7 separate regions of the Homo sapiens genome follow, and all the other regions are linked to region 3. Evidence: promoter capture Hi-C in 16 types of primary human blood cells and fetal thymus (Javierre and others, 2016). All regions are on one chromosome and are shown on one strand. The core of a region is centred on a gene start or on the middle of the fragment in contact, and the rest is flanking DNA. Distances in the headings are between cores, read along the strand shown. Region 1 has its middle 15 kb from the start of CDV3. Region 2 has its middle 5.2 kb from the start of BFSP2-AS1. Region 3 holds the start of NPHP3-AS1 (NPHP3 antisense RNA 1). Region 4 has its middle 23 kb from the start of BFSP2-AS1. Region 5 overlaps TOPBP1 (DNA topoisomerase II binding protein 1). Region 6 has its middle 11 kb from the start of TOPBP1. Region 7 overlaps TOPBP1 (DNA topoisomerase II binding protein 1).

What was found. Contacts are between HindIII fragments. The CHiCAGO score rates a contact against its expected background, and 5 or more counts as called.
Region 1: a fragment that was not itself captured here is called in contact with the fragment with the promoter of NPHP3-AS1 in region 3 in 7 of 17 cell types (neutrophils, fetal thymus, monocytes and 4 more); the score reaches 9.0 in neutrophils.
Region 2: a fragment that was not itself captured here is called in contact with the fragment with the promoter of NPHP3-AS1 in region 3 in 8 of 17 cell types (naive CD8 T cells, total CD8 T cells, activated CD4 T cells and 5 more); the score reaches 13.6 in naive CD8 T cells.
Region 4: a contact is called between a fragment that was not itself captured here and the fragment with the promoter of NPHP3-AS1 in region 3, in 8 of 17 cell types (naive CD8 T cells, neutrophils, naive CD4 T cells and 5 more). The highest score is 8.8, in naive CD8 T cells.
Region 5: a contact is called between a fragment that was not itself captured here and the fragment with the promoter of NPHP3-AS1 in region 3, in 8 of 17 cell types (total CD4 T cells, naive CD8 T cells, total B cells and 5 more). The highest score is 8.9, in total CD4 T cells.
Region 6: a contact is called between a fragment that was not itself captured here and the fragment with the promoter of NPHP3-AS1 in region 3, in 2 of 17 cell types (total CD4 T cells and fetal thymus). The highest score is 6.4, in total CD4 T cells.
Region 7: a fragment that was not itself captured here is called in contact with the fragment with the promoter of NPHP3-AS1 in region 3 in 8 of 17 cell types (M2 macrophages, M1 macrophages, total CD4 T cells and 5 more); the score reaches 11.4 in M2 macrophages.

What each region holds. Positions count from the first base shown.
Region 1 is chr3:133,557,491-133,560,190 of GRCh38, reverse strand. No RefSeq gene overlaps it. Among named protein-coding and RNA genes, the nearest start is that of CDV3, 15 kb to the left of the region's middle. The HindIII fragment of the contact is 7,264 bases long and covers 1-2,700 here.
Region 2 is chr3:133,494,913-133,497,612 of GRCh38, reverse strand. No RefSeq gene overlaps it. Among named protein-coding and RNA genes, the nearest start is that of BFSP2-AS1, 5.2 kb to the right of the region's middle. The HindIII fragment of the contact is 2,331 bases long and covers 116-2,446 here.
Region 3 is chr3:132,720,300-132,722,999 of GRCh38, reverse strand. NPHP3-AS1 (NPHP3 antisense RNA 1) reads right to left here and starts at 1,250. Exons shown (of 11, transcript NR_002811.2): 1 at 621-1,250. NPHP3 (nephrocystin 3) reads left to right here and starts at 591. Exons shown (of 27, transcript NM_153240.5): 1 at 591-1,037. The coding sequence starts at 645. It overlaps NPHP3-ACAD11 (NPHP3-ACAD11 readthrough (NMD candidate)), which reads left to right and starts at 541. Exons shown (of 45, transcript NR_037804.1): 1 at 541-1,037. RefSeq lists silencers at 75-584, 685-934. The HindIII fragment of the contact is 4,122 bases long and covers 1-2,700 here.
Region 4 is chr3:133,512,351-133,515,050 of GRCh38, reverse strand. No RefSeq gene overlaps it. Among named protein-coding and RNA genes, the nearest start is that of BFSP2-AS1, 23 kb to the right of the region's middle. The HindIII fragment of the contact is 7,656 bases long and covers 1-2,700 here.
Region 5 is chr3:133,624,768-133,627,467 of GRCh38, reverse strand. The region is part of intron 16 of TOPBP1 (DNA topoisomerase II binding protein 1); the gene reads left to right. Among named protein-coding and RNA genes, the nearest start is that of TOPBP1, 36 kb to the left of the region's middle. The HindIII fragment of the contact is 6,507 bases long and covers 1-2,700 here.
Region 6 is chr3:133,671,184-133,673,883 of GRCh38, reverse strand. It overlaps a transcript of TF not described here. Among named protein-coding and RNA genes, the nearest start is that of TOPBP1, 11 kb to the right of the region's middle. The HindIII fragment of the contact is 3,186 bases long and covers 1-2,700 here.
Region 7 is chr3:133,606,959-133,609,658 of GRCh38, reverse strand. TOPBP1 (DNA topoisomerase II binding protein 1) reads left to right here. Exons shown (of 28, transcript NM_007027.4): 26 at 697-786; 27 at 963-1,124. Among named protein-coding and RNA genes, the nearest start is that of CDV3, 35 kb to the right of the region's middle. The HindIII fragment of the contact is 2,989 bases long and covers 1-2,700 here.

The DNA.
Region 1 (2,700 bases), core at 200-2,699, 840 kb before region 3:
GCATGTCTTCCCTTTCTGAAAATTTATCATTGACTATAGGGGCAAACCATTTGTCAAGTCTTTCTCTTGCCTAGATGGGACCCCTCTGCTAGTGTCCTCTGGTGGAAGGGCACCTAGTGATTGGCTGTGGCCCCAGGCAGAATCCTGCTGTCCAGGAGTCAGCCCACTTCCCCTTCAAGCATCAAGCAGACACATTTCTTCCCCAGTGAATGATGTACAGCAGAGCATTTTTAGAATCTTAACATTTTCCTGCTAAAAATCTTACAGCACTGAGAAGTGAAGGGATTTACCCACAGTTGCTCACCAGTTAGAGGCGGAGCAGGACAAGAGTCCAGCCCTGTGCCTGGCTCATGCAGGGATAAGTTTTATTTTTATTTATTTATTTATTGAGACAGAGTTTCACTCTTGTTGTCCAGGCTGGAGTGCAATGGCGCGATCTCGGCTCACTGCAACCTCCGCCTCCTGGGTTCAAGTGATTCTCCTGCCTCCGGCTCCCGAGTAGCTGGGATTACAGGCATGCACCACCATGCCCAGCTAATTTTTGTATTTTCAGTAGAGTCAGGGTTTCACTATGTTGGCCAGGCTGGTCTCAAACTCCTAACCTCAGGTGATCTGCCCACCTTGACCTCCCAAAGTGCTGGGATTACAGGCATGAGCCATCACACCCAGCCAAGGATAAGTTTTATTATCTCTATCTTTTGAGATTTTAAATACATAAGTAGTTTAGAGTCTCCCACAGTTTGGGTTGAATTCATTAGAGACACCACCAGGGCCTGGAATTTTAAACTACAAATTCAACTGGATACATATAGGACTATTCAGGTTATCTATTTCTTCTTGAGTGAATTTTGGTAGTTTGTGTCTTTCAAATAATTGATCCATTTCATTTAAGCTGCCAAATTTTTGGGTTGCAGTTGTTCGTAGCATACCCTTATTTCTCATAGTTTTGTAGTGCTTAAGCTGTGATTTTAACCCCATTCTCTCTGCCTCCAAGTTCTTTACTTTTAATCACTTTGTTCTATGGCAGCTGACTCCCCTTAGCTCACTGGAAGGGGAGATGATAGTTACCCTTTTCACAGATGAGAAAGCTGAGGATCAGAGAGGATATACATCTAGTTAGAGGAAGGGTCAAGATTTGAACCTAGGCCTGCTGTGACTGCAGAGTCAGTTTCTTCTTTTCATCATGTACTATTGCCCAACCCTTCCACCCTTCACTCGTCTCAATATCTCTGCCTTGCCTCAGACAAGGAAGCTAAATCTCTGGGGGTTGGACCACCATGGGCGTTTTGGGAAGCTCCCCGGGTGATTCTAACACGCGGTCAAGGTTGAGGTGCATTGTTGGGCCTGCTCAGTCAGTGGGGTCTGGCACAGCAGGCATACTGCAGTCAGCTCCTGAAGGATGAGTTGAGTTTGCCCAGCCACATGCCAAGTGTTACATGGGAGGCAGAGATGGCATAGGACTCAACTGGGTGGTTCTGCTCCCTGCAGTGTTGTCTGGGGTCATTTATGTGATGACATTCAAGTGGGAGCCTGTCTAGGGTGAGAATGACCAAGATAGGTTTCCTAACTTGTCTAGTGACTTAACTGGGGTGTCTGAAACAGCTGAGGGATGGCTAGTTACCTTCCTCTCTATGTGGTCTCTCATCATTTAGTAGTCAGACCTGAGCTTTCTTACAAGACAACTGGATCCTAAGAGGGCAAGAGTGAAAGCTGTGAGACCTCTTATGGCCCAGGCCTGGAACTGGCACAGTGTTACTTAGACTGCATTCCATTGGCATAACATGCCATGAGACCAGCCCCAGTTTGTCTTGCCAGACCCCTATTAACTCCAATAGGGATGGTATCATGTCCGAGAGGCCGAAGGAAAGCAAACAAGACACAGGATGTATTGGGTGAACTTAAATACAGCGATGCTCCAGTGGTGGCAGGCTGGATGGGAAAACAACTACCGTTTGTAAAAAGCATGCAGTTTATATAGCATTTGGGCACGGTGGCTGTAATCCTAGCACCTTTGGAGGCCAAGGCAGGTAGATAGCTTGCTCTATTTTTTTTTTAATTAAAAAAATATATATATACACACACACAGAGCACATTTATTTTTGAGATGGAGTCTCACTCTGTTGCCCAGGCTGGAGTGCAGTGGCATGATCTTGGCTTACTGCAACCTCTGCCTCCCGGGTTCAAGTGATTTTCCTGCCTCAGTCTCTCGAGTAGATGGGATTACTGGTGCGCACCACCACGCTCAGCTATTTTTGTATTTTTAGTACAGACGAGGTTTCACCATGTTGGCCAGGCTGGTCACAAACTCCTAACCTCAGGTGATCTGCCCGCCTCGGCCTCCCTAAGTGCTGGGATTACAGGTGTGAGCCATGGCGCCCAGCCTACACATAGCATTTTTATTTAGCAGCCTCCACCTAGCAACCTTCTTTTAACCCAAAACAAAGGGCGTTCATCCCCTGTATAGCCTGTGTTCCAAGGAATGGGCCAAGGATTCAAATGTCCTTCATTGATAATGAGTGAGTCTGTGGGTTGGCCACTCCCGGATTTCTTAGCTCGGAACGCCAAATGCACATTCTTCTTAGACCATAGGGTCATTCTCAGCATATGCTTAAGTTAAGTTATTGGTGTCAGGTGTGTCTGCCATACAAAGTTCAAAAAGAAGAGAAATAAACTTCACCTCTAGTTTTTTGGGCTTTTTTT
Region 2 (2,700 bases), core at 32-2,531, 770 kb before region 3:
TTCACCAGGTTGGCCGGGCTGGTCTTGAATTCCTGACCTCAAGTGATCTGCCCACCTCAGCCTCCCAAAGTGCTGAGATTACAGGTGTGAGCCACCGTGCCCAGACTATAAAGCTTGATAAAGTAGAAATGATATGAGCAACAAACAAGAGTGAAAGAGAAGGGAAAAGGAAGAAATATACCTATGCCAATAATTACATGTTTTATAGTATAGAGAGAATTGATACTATGTAAAAATGAAACATGCACTTAAAAGTAATGTATAACATTCCAACCTCTTAACAGCTTTCATTTTTTTAAACCTATAGAAACAGAAGAATCCTATAACAACGAATATTTCCTAAGGTGAAAAAAATGTGTTAAAAGTCTAACATTTCTTTCAATTTAATTTCATTTTTTCTTGTGTTAAGTTCAAGTGAAATTAAACTAAAAACTCAGTTTTCTTAAAAAGCAGCATAAGTTGGGTATGGTGGCTCACTTCCATAATCTCAGAACTTTGGGAGGCTGAGGTGGAAGGATTGTTTGAGCCCAGGACTTCAAGACTAGCCTGGGCAACATAGTAAGACTCCGTCTCTATTTAAAATTTAAGGCCTGGTGTGGTGGTTCAAACCTGTAACCCCAGCACTTTGTGGGGCCGAGGCGGGTGGATCGCTTAAACACAGGAGTTTGAGACCAGCCTGGGCAACATGGTGAAACCCCACCTCTACAAAAAAAAAAAAAAAATTAGCCTGGTGTGGTGGTACATACCTGTAGTCCCTACTTGAGAATCTGAGATGGGAGGGCTAATTGATTGAGCTGGGGAGGTCAAGGCTGCAGTGAGCTGAAATTGCACCGCTGCACCCGCTGCACTCCAGCCTGGGTGACAGAGCAAGACCCTGTCTCAGAAAAAAAAAAAAAAACAAAATCAAAAACAACAACAACAAAAGAACAAAAACAGCATGTATAGCATGAACCTAATCTTTTATACAGTTATAAGAAAATTAGGAAATAAACATTGATACAATATTATTATCTAACTTACAGACTTTATTTAAATTCCATCAGTTGTCCAAAATGTGTCCTTTGTAACAAAAGAAAACAATTTTCTGGTCCAGGATACAATCCAGGTTCATGGGTTGCATTTAGTTGTCAGGTTTCTTTAGTTTTCTTTAATCTGCACAGTTCCTCAGTCTTCCCTTGTCTTTTATAAACTTGATGTTTTTTGGGTTGTACAGGCCAATGATTTTGTAGACTGTGCCTCCATTTGAGCTTGTCTGATGTTTTCTCAGGATTAGATTTGGATTACGCATTTTTGGTAAAAATATCATAGGAGTGATATTTTTTCCTCAATTCATCATCAGAACTGGCCTGTGGTGATGCTGCAGGGAGGGGCAGGGCAATAAATACACTGACCTCACTCTCTTTCGTCCCTCATTCTCCTGCTGGTGCTCCCTATTGCTGGAATACACTGGTGTTCAGCAGGAGGAGCACCCATTCACATAGCCCAGGTACAGAGTAGGTCCTGAAGCCAAGTGCTCAGTCCATGAGGTTTCAGGAGGAAGTCAGGAGTTGCTTTTTAGTGGAGACTAACTGACAACAGTGGTGGACATAGCCTTTCTCAAATATCCTATGACTGTTATTCTCCTACTGTGGCGTGCCAAGGGTTCTATATGTTACCTTTGTCTGCAACAGATACTTCCACAATTATTGGGCATGCTGGTCATAGGTGCAGTGGCAGGCAGCTGGCTCCACACCTCAGCTTGCTACAGATGCCTTTTTGCTCTAGGCCCTGCTCAAAACTTGCAGCCCCTCCATGTGTTCATGCTGATATAAACACACACACACCACACACACACACACACACACACACACACACACACACACAATAGGGAAGAAAGGAACATTCTTTCTTTCTTTCTTTCTTTTTTTTTGAGATGGAGTTTCGCTCTTGTTGCCTAGGCTGGAGTGCAATGGTGCAATATTGGCTCACCACAACCTCCGCCTCCCAGGTTCAAGCAATTCTCCTGCCTCAGCCTCCCGAGTAGCTGGGATTACAGGCATGTGCCACCACGCCCAGCTAATTTTGTATTTTTAGTAGAGACAGCGTTTCTCTATGTTGATCAAGCTGGTCTTGAACTCCCGACCTCAGGTGATCCTCCTGCCTTGGCCTCTCAAAGTGCTGGGATTACAGGCGCGAGCCACCGTGCCCGGCCAGAACATTTTTTCTTATAGAAGAAAGCCAACTAAAAAATGTAGAAGAAATGATGGAATTTGAAAATCACCATTTGGCAACCATAATAAGTAATAATTGACGTGGGCAGGAATCATCAATTGATGCTAAAACTAAAACTTCTGGGACAGAAAGTTTGAGGAATAACAATATTTACTCAAAATAGACTAAAAATATTTTTCCACAAGATACTTACTAATTACAAATGGAAAAACAGTAACTTTACAGTGGAGAAGCTTGGCACACGCCACCTGAACCCAGTAAACAAAATTAATATCACCAGGAGAGGGACATATTGATATCACATGCCTCCTGGTGAGTTTTATGGTATTCCAACTGAAAGTGTGCAACTTGAATCTAACCTGAGGAAATACCAGAACTCAAGTTGAGGAGTATTTTGTAAAATAACTGCCCTGTTGAGACGGATTGAACTGTGACTCCAAAAAAAGATATGTTGAAGTTTGAATCCCCACTATGTCAGAACGTGACCTG
Region 3 (2,700 bases), core at 1-2,500:
GGTCCACTGCTGGTCCTGCACAGTCGCCACTCCCCCCATCCTTCCTGCTAGCCCCGCCCTTCTTGCTAGCCCGCCTGGCCCTGTGTGCTTTCTCGACCCACCCCCGTTTGCCCTGCCCCGCCCACATGCCCCGCCCCACTTGCCCGGCCCCTCTTGTTGTCCCGCCTAGCCCTGCTGCCCCGCCCCGTCCCCCTCGCCCATCCCCCCAGTTCCGCTGCCCCGTCCCGTTCCGCTGCCCCGCCCCTCCAGTTGCCCCACCCCCTTCCGCTCTCCCTCCCCGCCCCGTTCCGCTGCCTCGCCTCGTCCGGCTCTCCGGCCCCGCCCCGCCCCGTTCCGCTGCCCCGCCCCGTCCTGCTCCCCCGCCCCGTCCTGCACCCCCGCCCCGCCCAGTTCTGCTGCCCCGCCCCTCCTGTTTCCCCGCCCCATCCCGCTCCCCCGCCTCGCCCCGTTCCGCTGCTCCGCCCCGTCCCGCTGCTCCGCCCAGTCCTGCTCTCCGGCCCCGCTCCATCCCGCTGGCCCGCCCCGTCCCGTTCCGTTCCTCTGCCCCGCCCCGTCCCGTTCCGTTCCTCTGCCCCACCCCGTCCCGTTCCGTTCCGCTGCCCAGTCCTGCTGGTACTCACTAGGTAGTAGCGGCAACGGACGCCATGGGGACCGCCTCGTCGCTCGTGAGCCCCGCGGGCGGGGAAGTGATCGAGGACACGTACGGGGCGGGCGGCGGCGAGGCCTGCGAGATCCCGGTGGAGGTGAAGCCCAAGGCCCGCCTGCTGCGCAACTCGTTCCGCCGAGGCGCGGGGGCGGCAGCAGGGGCCGGGCCCGGGTCGCTGCCCCGCGGGGTGGGCGCGGGCGGGCTGCTGGGGGCCAGCTTCAAGTCCACTGGCTCGTCGGTGCCAGAGCTGGAGTACGCGGCGGCCGAGTACGAGCGGCTCAGGAAGGAGTACGAGATCTTTCGCGTCAGCAAGAACCAGGAGTTGTTGTCCATGGGCCGCCGCGAGGCCAAGCTGGACACGGAGAACAAGCGGCTGCGGGCCGAACTGCAGGTAACGCCGGGCTGGGCCGCGACGCCGGGAGACCCTTGGGAAGCACGGCCGTCCTGCTCCCTCTCCAAACCAAGCGGCTTTGAAAGTTCGGCGGAAACTGCCCATTTTAATTTGAGAGGCCATATTCTCTTCGAGTCTGAAATGATTCCTTAACCCTCCCCTTTTTCTGTCTCTTTTTTTGGAGACAGGGTCTCGCTGCGGTGGCACGATCGCGGCTCACTGCAACCTGGAACTCCTGGGCTCAATGATCCTCCCGCCTCGGCCTCCTAAAGTTCTGGGATTACAGGAGTGAGCCACCGCGCCTGGTCCCCGCTTTTCTATTTCTGGTTTATTCATTGAGGCACCTAGAAGAAATTAGCCGGAAAGTGTCCTGAGGAGGCAAATGCCAATCTCCAGCTCCACTGCCGCCCCCGCGCCCACCCCCTCAGAAGGCTGGTGACATCTGTTGAAGCAACTCAGCAAACTCTTCCTAGGAGTTTCACCCCCCTCCCCACCATAAAAATTTTAAGTGGGTCTCCAAAGTGGGGCTCAAGTGTCGGTTTCTTTGTAAAGTTTCATCGCTCTTGCATTTTAATGGTCTTGACATGAAAATTTCTGGAAGCCTCCTGATCTCACCATGGTTGAAAACCTTCTCTAGATGTAGTCAAATTTCCCTAGTCCATTTGATTAATTTACGCTAAAAGCAATTATTGCATGCCCTCCATGTAGCAGGTCCATTATAATTCAATAAAATAGTATGTAAAGCAGCCGGGCGTGGTGGCTCACGCCTGTAATCCCAACACTTTTCGAGGCCTAGGCGGACGGATCACCTGAGGTCAGGAGTTCGAGATCAGCCTGGCCAACATGGTGAAACCCCGTCTCTACTAAAAATACAAAAATTAGCCGGGCATGGTGGCACGCGCCTGTAATCCCAGCTACTCAGGAGGCTGAGGCAAGAGAATTGCTTGAACCCGGGAGGCGGAGGTTGCAGTGAGCCGAGATTGCACCATTGCACTCCAGCTTGGGTGACAGAGCGAGACTCCGTATCAAAAAAAAAAAAATAGTATAAAGCAAGAGGTTGCTTTTCTGTGAACGAATCTCTAAAACTTTTTGCCCTCAGTTTGGGGCCCCTCTGGTCGTTGTTGTGTCGTTTGTGTACTCTTTACTGTGGGAGAGACTTATAGGCAGCCTAAGAGTTCCCGGAGTCGTTACAGTCGGGGTGAAATAAATACCTCAGACTGATTTTTCTAAAAGAAAAAAAGCCTCCTGTCTTCAAGACTAGACATTCTTCTAGTCAGGTTTTGTTGTTGTTGTTGTTGTTGTTTTTGTTTTTAAACTCCCTCATTAGCTGTTGTGTAATTATTGTCGTTGTCTGGGAAGAAGTCCGTGTAGCAGTTTATCTGTTGTCTTATCAGTTTTCCTACTGGGCAACCTTAATGCACTTGCATGTATAAAATGGACTAGTGCATTTCAAATATCTGATTCAATGTATCCAAGCCACTGCCCAACAGACACCGCACGTTGGAAACAACTGTGAGGTGGGGGTAGAAAAGGCCAAACCAAACAGGGCGGAGTGCAATAAGGGTTGGCAAGTGTCACAGTCACTCATGTCACCAATCCTGATTCCCTGTGAAACATACTGGTTCCTTTCTCACATATCGAGGCATGAAAAAACTTATCCATA
Region 4 (2,700 bases), core at 116-2,615, 790 kb before region 3:
GTTTAATAAAAGAAGGAGGTTTGGGCACATACCAAGGTTTCCTGGAACCAGGCAATAGGGTCTCCTGAGGCCTGGGACCCGGAGCTGGACAGAATCTGGAAAGGAAGGCAGAGCTTTCCTCTGACTCCTCAAAGCTGTGACATCTATCTCTCCTCTGCCTGCGTGTCAGGTTCCTGCCTCTCCTGTAGAGCAGACTTCTAGACTTCCCTACCCCTGTGGAGGAAAGGCCCACTTGCAGATCTTGAGCTGGCCCGTCTATGAGTGAAGCAACCAGCAGAAACTGACTCATTCATTTTAGGATCAAATCCACATTCTTGGGAGAAAAAATTCGGACTGACCCTCTGGAGTCAGGTGTCCACCTGTTAATCATGCTTCTCCAGAGCACCAGTAGGATATAGGTACATAGGTAGGTAGGAGTTAGATAGAGATCTATGAGACGGGATTTATGAGGGAATTTGCTTATGTCATCACAAGGCTGAGTAGTCCCACGGTATGCCATCTGTGAGCTGGTGAACCAAAGAAACTGATAGCATGGCTTCGTCTAAAGTCAGAGGCTGAGAACAAGGAGACCCGATGGTGTAACTCTCAGTCAGAGGCTGAAGGCCTGAGAACCTGGGGAGCTGCTGGTATAAGGCCTGGAGTCCAAAGGCCAGAGAACCTAGAGTTCTGATGTCCAAGGGCAGGAGAAGATGGGTGTCCCACCTCCAGAAGAGAGAGAGCAAATTGTCCTTCCTCTGCCTTTTTTTTCTATTTGGGCCCTCAACCAACTGGTTGGTGCTTGCACATTGGGTGAGGGCTGATCTTCCTTACTCAGTCTACTGATTCAAGTGCCAGTCTTTTCCAGAAATATTCTTACAGACAGATCCAGAAATAATGCTTTATTGGCTATCTGGGTATCCCTTAATCCAGTCACATTAACACCTAAAACTAATCATCAAAAGTTCACACCTTGTCAACTTGGCACACTTACCCATCTTTTTTTTTTTTTGAGATGGAGTCTTGCTCTGTCACCTAGGGTGGAGTATAGTGCCATGATCTCAGCTTACTGCAACCTCTGCCTCCTGGGTTCAAGCTATTCTTCTGCCTCAGCCTTCTGAGTAGCTGGGACTACAGGCATGCACCACCACGACCGGCTAATTTTTGTATTTTTAGTAGAGACAGAGTTTCACCACACTGGCCAGGTGGTCTCAAACTCCTGCCTCGTGATCCGCCCCCCTTGGCCTCCCAATGTGCTGGGATTACAGGCGTGAGCCACCACGCCCAGCCACATTTACCCATCTTCTTAAAGCCATAGTTCCACCTAACATGATACAACTATCCTACACGCAATAAAAGTGCACCAGTTCCTTCCCCAGAAGAGGAGGTAAAGTCTTTGAGTGATGTTTACTCTTCTCCCGATATCCCATAAGTTAAATAATGTAAAATTAACGATACTTAACTGCTGATATAAAGTCAATATATTTTATGTTACCTGATACAATAATAAGAGAGGAAATAAAATAAATATGTCTGGGCCCCAGGCCACAGGAGACCCTATTGCCTGGTTCCAGGAAACCCTGGTATGTGCCCAAACCTCCTCCTTTTGTTAAACTAGCTCACATTTGACAAAAGAGGGAGGAAATACTCATGGCAATTACGGCTCTCATTTCTGTAACTGGTCATAGGGTCTTAGATGGTATTTATAACTATCATCTTCTACCATCCATCCTGTATTCTCTTTGCTTCTAGCAAGCAGTTCGGCTTGATTCTTTACCTAATGTGATGACTCAAAACTTATTCCTGAAGGCTCTGGGCCATTCATAGTCCTGGCTAGATTGGGTTATCATAGTTCCCCATTGACCTTAACCACAGGGCATGGTAATATTAAGAGATGGCCCAAGGAATTGCCTGTATTTCAGAAATACTTACCTCCTTACCTCCATTGTGGAGTAGTAGTCCAATTTCTCCTTGGTAGTCCAGATCAATCACTCCAGCCAACACCATAACTCCCCTGACTCAGAGGTGTGCGGAGCCCAAAGTGGCTAGGTGCGAGTCTCAACTTCCAGTTCAATGGAATCATTGTTGTGTCTGCTAGTGAAAGCATTCTTCCCTCTGGAAATAAGACCTCTATGGCAGCCGGGCATAAAGCCATGGGAAAAGGAAGCAACAATTGTGCTAGTAGGTCATTAGGGGTCATGGTGTGTGGTGCCACTCCCATTTCCACCCCTTGATTCCTGGACCTCTACATCCTGGCAATGGGAGAAACAGTACCGTGTATTAGATGCTGATTCAGAGCTTATACAGTCTTCTGGAGAATCTTGCCCCTACGAAGTATTATCACCTATCATACTATAACCGTGTCTTCAAAAGGCCATCCCATCATTCTATCAAGCCAGCTGCTTCAGGATGGTAGGGAACATGGAAAGACCAGTGAATTCCAGGAGCATGAGCCCATTGCTGTACTTTGGCTGTGAAGTGTGTTCCTTGGTCAAAAGCAATGCTGTATGGAATACCATGATGGTAGATAAGACATTCTTTAAGTCTACAGGTGGTAGTTACAGCAGAAGAATTATGTGCAGAGAAGGTAAAAATCCATATCCAGGCTGGGTGCCATGGCTCACACCTGTAATCCCAGCACTTTGGGAGGCTAAGGCAGGAGGATCACGTGAGGTCAGGAGTTTGAGACCAGCCTGGCCAACATGGCAAAACCCCATCTCTACT
Region 5 (2,700 bases), core at 144-2,643, 900 kb before region 3:
TATTTGTATTACCTATTATAAATTGTTAGGTAATCTTATCTGTTATTATCTAATTACCTATTATGTTACCTATTGCCAGTTGCTGAGCATTATCTCGTTTCATTCTCATAGTAGCCCTACAAGGGGTGTGTGTATATTTTTTTTTCCTCAAAATTGAATGTTTCCTTGTTTATTCTGTTTTGATGTAGACATGATATAAGACTTTCAAGGGAACATATAGGATGTATGTTTTTATATGATTTTAAATGCCAGTCCTCTCAGTATAAAAAATAGAATTTATTACTGAAATTCCTAAACAGAATTTAACCATTGCATTGCATTAAAGTTTATATTAAATCTTTTCCTGAAATGGATTGGTAATTGATAAAGGGAAGAGCCTTATAATATGCAGAGGTTAGATATTTATATATGCATAGAGTAAAGCAGTTCTCAAGTGAAGTTGTTCCAAATGTTCCCTTCCATCATCTAGGACCAGACTGTCCCAAAGAGATCATCGGATACTGTCTTCTGTCTTCAGACAGTTAAACATGTAGGCCCGATCTTTGCAACAAATCAGATGCAGCATCTTCATTTTATTACAAATATTTGTGTAACATTCCCTCTATTAAAATGAATATAAATATAACCTACCTACTTTTATAATTTAAAAAAGTAGCAGACAGTATAGCACTCTGTGATGCATAGGAGAAATAGAAGGTGCATAATATAGAAAAGATATATGTTCAGTTATGTATAATGCCTAAGGCTGACTACACTAGAAAACAATGGAGTATTAATACGTTTGTATACCTATGTAAAGGCACCACAAATCCAACAGTCCCAAGGCTGAGACCGATCTGGGGACTCAGATACCATGAGTAGCAGTGGTCTTCCATCAATTTATACAGTAGTCACATTTTTGTAATATTAGTGTATATTAAAACTGCAAAAAAATAACTTGTTTATATGTCGAACAGGTTCTAGACTCAACTAATTATAAACAACTTTTTTTTACATACGTGAATTTGTCGGGACATTAGAATATCATGCAAGATATGACATAATTATATGTATGACTGTTCCCCAGAATTTCCAGCATCCTGTACCTTACCCACTGCATGCTAGTAGCACCCTCCAACATACAAACACACATTGTAACAACCAAAATCACCCTCACAAATGTCCAAAATAACCCCTGAAGTAACACTTTTGCTGAAACCGCTGATCTAGACCAAGGGTGTATGGGCTGGTTCATCTGTTTTTGTAAGTAAAGTTTTATTGGAATACAGCAATGCCTTTTCACTTACAAATTGCCTATGACTGCTTTCACATACAAGACAAAAGTTGAGCAGTTGCAAAAGAGATTGTTTGGCCTGCAAAGTCTAAAATATTTACTATCTGGCCTTTTAAGAAAAAATTTGCCAAACCCTGATGTAAACCATCTACAACCACTGACAGTCTGTTCTTGAATGGCCTCTGAAGACTGAAACTCATGGTTTCCATATTGTCATAGTGGAGTTGACTGGTAAACCAAATTGATTCAGGCAAAAATACTCCTCTGTTTTTCTGAATTATCTTGATAATATACCACTACGCAGAAAGGGAGACAGTTATTCTGAGAACTAACAAATTAGGCAAGGTGTATTTTTATTGTTATGTTTTAGGATACATGGTCAGTAGGAAATAGAGATTTTTATAATATAACTTAGGAGGCAATAGTACTTCTTACTTCTTTTTCTTAATTCTTTTTTTTTTTTGAGAGGGAGTTTTGCTCTTGTTGCCCAGGCTGGAGTGCAGTGACATAATCTCGACTCACCACAACCTCCACCTCCTGGGTTTAAGCGATTCTCCTGCCTCAGCCTCCTGAGTAGCTGGTATTACAGGCATGCGCCACCACACCCGGCTAATTTTGTATTTTTAGAAGAGATGTGGTTTCTCCATGTTGGTCGACTGGTCTGAAACTCCCGACCTCAGGTGATCCACCTGCCTTGGCCTCCCAAAGTACTGGAATTACAGGCATGAGCCACTGCCACTGCACCCAGCTTCTTAATTCATTTGTCTATTTAAAAAGCTCAGAGATATTCCTTACTTAGAAAATGGAAAATATTAAGTGTCCCTAAGGATAAAATTCTGTTTATTTTGGTGATTGTATTTAGAAATATAATTTTTACCTACCCTTTGGTTTTTACTTGATGTTTCCCAGGTCAAGAGAATATTGAATAGCGGCCGGGCACGGTGGCTCATGCGTGTAATCCCAGCACTTTGGGAGCGCAAGGCGGGTGGATCACTTGAAGTCAGGAGTTCGAGACCACTGCCCAATATGGTGAAAACCCATCTCTACTAGAAATACAAAAATTAGCTGGGTGTGGTGGCGTACGCCTATAATCCCAGCTGCTCAGGAGGCTGAGATAGGAGAATTGCTTGAACCCGGGAGGTGGAGATTGCAGTGAACCAAGATTGTGCCACTGCATTCCAGCCTGGGTGACAGAGTGAGACTCTGTCTCAAAAAAAGAGAGAATATTGAATAGGAAGAATTGGGAGATCATAGCATAATATAATAGTTAAGAGCATGGCTTTTGAAGTCAAAGTTATCTCTATCATTTACTCATTGAGTATCCTTGAACAGGGTACTGAACCATGTCCCTTAGTTCTTTTATCTTTAAGATTAATGTAATAATACCAGTGTTAGGATTGTTGTGAGGAATGGATGAGATAATGATG
Region 6 (2,700 bases), core at 46-2,545, 950 kb before region 3:
GCCTGGGGAAAATCTGAATTTAAATACAATTTTAAGAACTTTTAATTAAAGTATAATAAATATGCATAGAACGTCACATGTTCTAAATAAATGTACGGCTTAATTATCATCAAATGAACACACCCACATAACCAGCACCCACATCAAGAAACAAAACGTTAACAAACAAAGCTGGCACAACCCCCTCCCACAAAGGTACCCATTATCTTGACTTCTAACACATAGACTAATTCTGCTGATTTTTGAGCTTTATGCAGATGGAATCATACCATACGTACAATTCTGTGTTTGACCTCTTTCACTGGAGATGCTATGTGTGAGATTCACCTATGTTGTTTATAGTTGCCCTTTATTCATTATCAGCGTTGCACATTCTACACTGTGTATGCAGCACATTTTATCTTTCCTCTTGATCGTTGTAGTCTTCAGTGGGCTCTTAAGGATAGTGCTGCTGTGGATATAATTTTAACTGTATTTTCTATCTGTTGCTGGTATCTGAAAAAAACAATTGGTTTTCGTATATTGACCTTGAATCCAGTGATCTTGCTGAGTTGTCTTATTAGTTGGAATTGCTTCCTTCCTATGCACATCCTTATATCTTATATGAATAAGGTCAGTTTTGTTTTTTCCTTTCAGATCCTTAGGAATCTCTTTCCTCTTGACTTACTGCACTGGCTAGAACTCACATTACATTCTACTACATGTCTTTTCGTGCACTTAGGGATGCATCACTGCAGGGTTTCCCCATACATCATGAAGTAGATGTACGTTCAGCTTTAATAGTTACTGCCGAACTATTAATACAAAATTGAGTAGAAGGGTGATAGGGAAAGTTTTCAATAATTCTCCATTATGCAAAATTTTTGCTGGTGTTTTGTTTTGTTTTAAATATTATTAACCATATTAAGGAACTTTCCTTCCTTCCTGGGTTGCCTAAATTTTTTAAAAATCATGAATGGGTATTGCATTTTGTCAAGTATTTTTTCTGCACCTAAGATACTCATATGATTCCCTTTTCTTTTATATTAATGTGGTAAACTTCTCTTATTCTCTTTTTTCTTTCTTTTTCTTTCTCTTTCTCTCTTCTTTCCTTTTTCTGTCCCCCTCCCCTTCCCTCCCCTCCCCTTCCTTTCCCTCCCCTTCCCCTCCCTTCCCTCTTGCTTGGGTCCTGCTCTATTGCCCAGGCTGGAGTGCAGCTGTGGGATCATAGTTCAGTGAAGGCTCCACCTCCTAGGCTCAAGTGATCCTCCCTCCTCAGCCTCCCAAGTAGCTGGGGCTACAGCAGTGCACCACCACGCTGGACTCCTTTAATTGATTTTTAAATGTTGAACTACTCTTACATTCCTGGAATAAACCCCACTTGGCTATTACGTATAACATTTTTTTACATATTGCTGAACTTGATTACTTTTTTTTTTTTTTTTAGGATTTTTTGCATTTGTGTTCGTGAGAGAAATCATTCTGCAGGTTTCTTTATCTTAATGTCACTAAAAGTTTGGTTGCAAGGTTTTAATTGCTCATAAAATTAATTGGAATATGTTACTTCTTTTCTTATTCTCTGGAAGATACTGTGTAAGAATAGCATTCTTTCTTTCTTAAATGTTCGGAAGGCCTCACCAGTGAAGCCACCTGTGTTTAGAGTTTTACTTGTGGAAAAGTTTTTGATAACAGATTGAGTTTCTTAAATAGCTAGAGAAATATCCAGATTTTATGATCCTTCAAGTTTCAATATTGGTAAGTTTTTTGTTAAAGAAATTTGTCCATTTTATCTAATTTTCAAATTTATTGATATAAAATCATTCATGATCTTATCCTTTGACATTTTTAGTATATGGTATTTAGTATTTTCATTGCTGATATTAGTGATTTATGTTTACTACTTTCCTTGATTAGTATTGCCAGGATTTTACCTATTTCATTAATCTTTTCAGAGAATCAACCTTGGCTTTGCTGTTTTTCTCTATTGTACATTCATTTATTGTTTCATTGATTTCTGCTCTGTTGACTTTGAATTTTGGTCTTTCTCTAGCTTCTTTATTCTTTCTTTCCTTCTTCTCCTTTTTCTTCTTCTTCTTTTTTTTTTTTTTTCTTTTGACAGAGTCTCACTCTATCGCCCAGGCTGGAGTGAAGTGGCAAGATTGCGGCTCATTGTAACCTCCGCCTCCTGGGTTCAAGTGATTCTCCTGGCTCAGCCTCCTGAGTAGCTGGGATTACAGGCATTAGACAGAGCACCCGGGTAATTTTTATTTATTTTTATTTTTTAGTGGAGATGGAGTTTCACCATATTGTTCAGGCCAGTCTCGAACTCCTGGCCTCAAGTGATCTGCCTGCCTTGGCCTCCCAAAGTGCTGAGATTACAGCTGTGAGCCACCATGCCTGGCCTCTCTTGCCTTTTTTTTTCTTTTAAGGCAGTTAAGGTCACTGATTTTTCAGCCTCTCTTCTCTATTACATGTGATAAAGGCTATAAATTTGCCTATAAGTATTCCTTTTCTTGATATATTATAACTTCATGGTTATTCAGTTCAAAATATATTCTAATTTTATTGTGATTTCTTATTCAACTCATGGTTTATTGAGAAATGTATTGCTTGATTATCCAGGTGGGCCAATATCCTCACAAGGGTTCTTTAAATGTAGAAGCAGAGCCTCCAGAAAGGAACTCAGCCCTGCTGACATCTTGATTTAAGCCCAGTGAGATC
Region 7 (2,700 bases), core at 171-2,670, 890 kb before region 3:
AAACCCCTTATAAAACCATCAGATCTCCTGAGAACTCACTATCAGGAGAACAGCATGAGGGAACTGCCCCCACCATCTGATCACCTCCCACGAGGTCCCTCCCCCAACACTTGGAGATTATCATTCGGATTACAATTCAAGATGAGATTTTGGGTGGGGACACAGCCAAACCATTATCAGAACCCCTGAGTTAAATAGTCTTTCATGTTGTATTCTAAGTTCTCTGATATCTCCAAATCCTTATTAGCCATGATACCCTCTCTTTTAGAGTAATTCCACTGGCTTTTGTTAGTTGTTATTCCCTTCCTAAATATTTTGTTTCCAGTTTGTAAACATTTTTAAGAGAAGTGAAACGCAGGCTTCATCTAACCTAAGGAGCTCTGCTTGAAGCTCTTCCCTTGATTAATCAAAAGAAAAAAATACTAGAAAAGACTAAACATCAATCACACTGCTTTGTTTTAATGTTACCTAATCATTAATGGTTTTTCATTCCTCACGTATTTCTTGATGGCCTACTATGTGCCAGATACCATGGATTCACGTTTCAGTGTTCTGGCCAGAGATAATTATACTGTGGCAAAAGTAAAGTTTATAAGATTTATTGACAAAACTAAGTCTACAGATAAAATCATGCATTATCTGTATTATTTTGTTATTTTCCAAATGATTTCACCACTGATTGTTTTTTATTTGTAGGGAGCATTTAGTGGGTGGAAGGTTATTTTACATGTGGATCAGTCTCGAGAAGCAGGCTTCAAACGCCTTCTTCAGTCAGGAGGAGCAAAGGTTTGTATCAAATTAATTTACTGACCTTTTTACATGAATAATCATCTAACCAAGATTGCTATGATGAGTTCTTCATTTTCTCTACTTTTTGAAATGGTAATCCTTAAGTACACATTATACAGCTGAACTACTTTGGAATACTGGTAGATTGTGATACTACCTTGTTTTTTCATTAGGTGCTACCTGGTCATTCTGTACCTTTATTTAAAGAGGCCACACATCTTTTTTCTGACTTGAATAAACTGAAACCAGATGACTCAGGAGTTAATATAGCAGAAGCTGCTGCCCAGAACGTGTACTGCTTGAGAACAGAATACATTGCTGATTATCTCATGCAGGTTTGTGAGATTCTATCCTTGACCTCCTCATTACCAGAGATACGTTTATGTGCATAGATAAGTAACTGCACAACAAAACCTTCAGCTCATGATTAGTAGAAGATTAGTCTCCTGTTATTCTCTTCTATTCCAGCCCTTTCAGTTTTATTCTATTTGTGTTTTTTATTATAATGAACATATTATGTAAACATTTAGCTTGGAAGTTAAATATGAGAAGAGTATAAAAATCTAGGTACCTCTAAAGGCTTTAAAAATACCCTTTAAAATGTTGGAATATAAAGCAGAAATCGATTCCAGGAGTCCAAGGAGAAACATTTATCCAAAGGTCCTTTAGTTTTCTTGACTGTTTGCTTTCATGTACATTAAATACCTATGTTAGACACTGTGGTAAATTTAAGCATTTGCTATATGGTGGGCTTACTACTCTCATATTCAGAATTGGCCTGTGTTGTGTAATTTGAATGGGGTAAGAAAAATCTTCTGACACCAGAGTGCCCAAAAGGCCATCAGGAGTCAGCAGGCATGACACATAATCATAAGGATTAGATTTCATAATCATAATCTATGAAGGATTTCAACTGGGATGATACAGAAATAAGGGGAGGCCAACACTCAAAGTCAGCTTTGTGATTTTGCTGCTGTGCTTGGAGATTGCTCAGGATTTAATAGAATGCCTAAAACACAAATGTGAAGCCGTTATAGAGCAGAGGGCATACTGATTAGTATCCACGATTTTATCTAAGGTTTTCACTCAACGTGATGTTTTTGACATTCATTCAAGTTGTAGTGTATACCAGTAGTTCATTCCTTTTTATTGCTGAGTAGTATTTCTTTGTCTGAATATACCATAGTTGATTCATTTTCCTATTGATGGACCCTTGGACTCCTGGAATCAGAAATGTTCCAATAAGCACTTCCCTTGAGCATCACATAAGTGCTCGAAAGTTTAGGATTTTGTACCATTTCTAACTTTTGGATTTGAGATGCTCAATCTGTACATTATTGGTGGGAAGTGTAAAATGGTAAAAATCCCTTTGACAAAAGGCCTGGCAGCTTCTTAAAAAACGAAATATTTACTTATTCTATTACACAGCAATTCTGTCCTATTTACCCAGGAAAAATGAAAAAATATGTCCATAAAAAAGCCTGTATATTTTTAGTAGCTGTTTGTCATCTTGGTTATCATTAGTAAAGCTACTAAAAATATACAGGGATTTTTACCATTTTACACTTTCCACCAATAATATACAGATTGAGCATCCCAAATCCAAAAGTTAGAAATGGTACAAAATCGTAAACATTTCTGATTTCTGGGTTTCGGTTGCTCAACCAGTAAATATAAATATTCCAAAATCTGAAATACTTCTGATTCTAAGCACTTCAGATAAGGGATACTCAATCTGTGTAAGCCTTCTGGTTATTCCATATTTTGCCAACATTTAGTGTTGGCAGTCATTTGATTTTTAGCCATGCGGTAGGTTTATAGTGGGAGCACATTGTAATTTGTACAGAGTGTTTGTAATTTGTATTTCCCTGATGACTAATGACATCGAGCACTTTTTCTTTCATGGTCTCT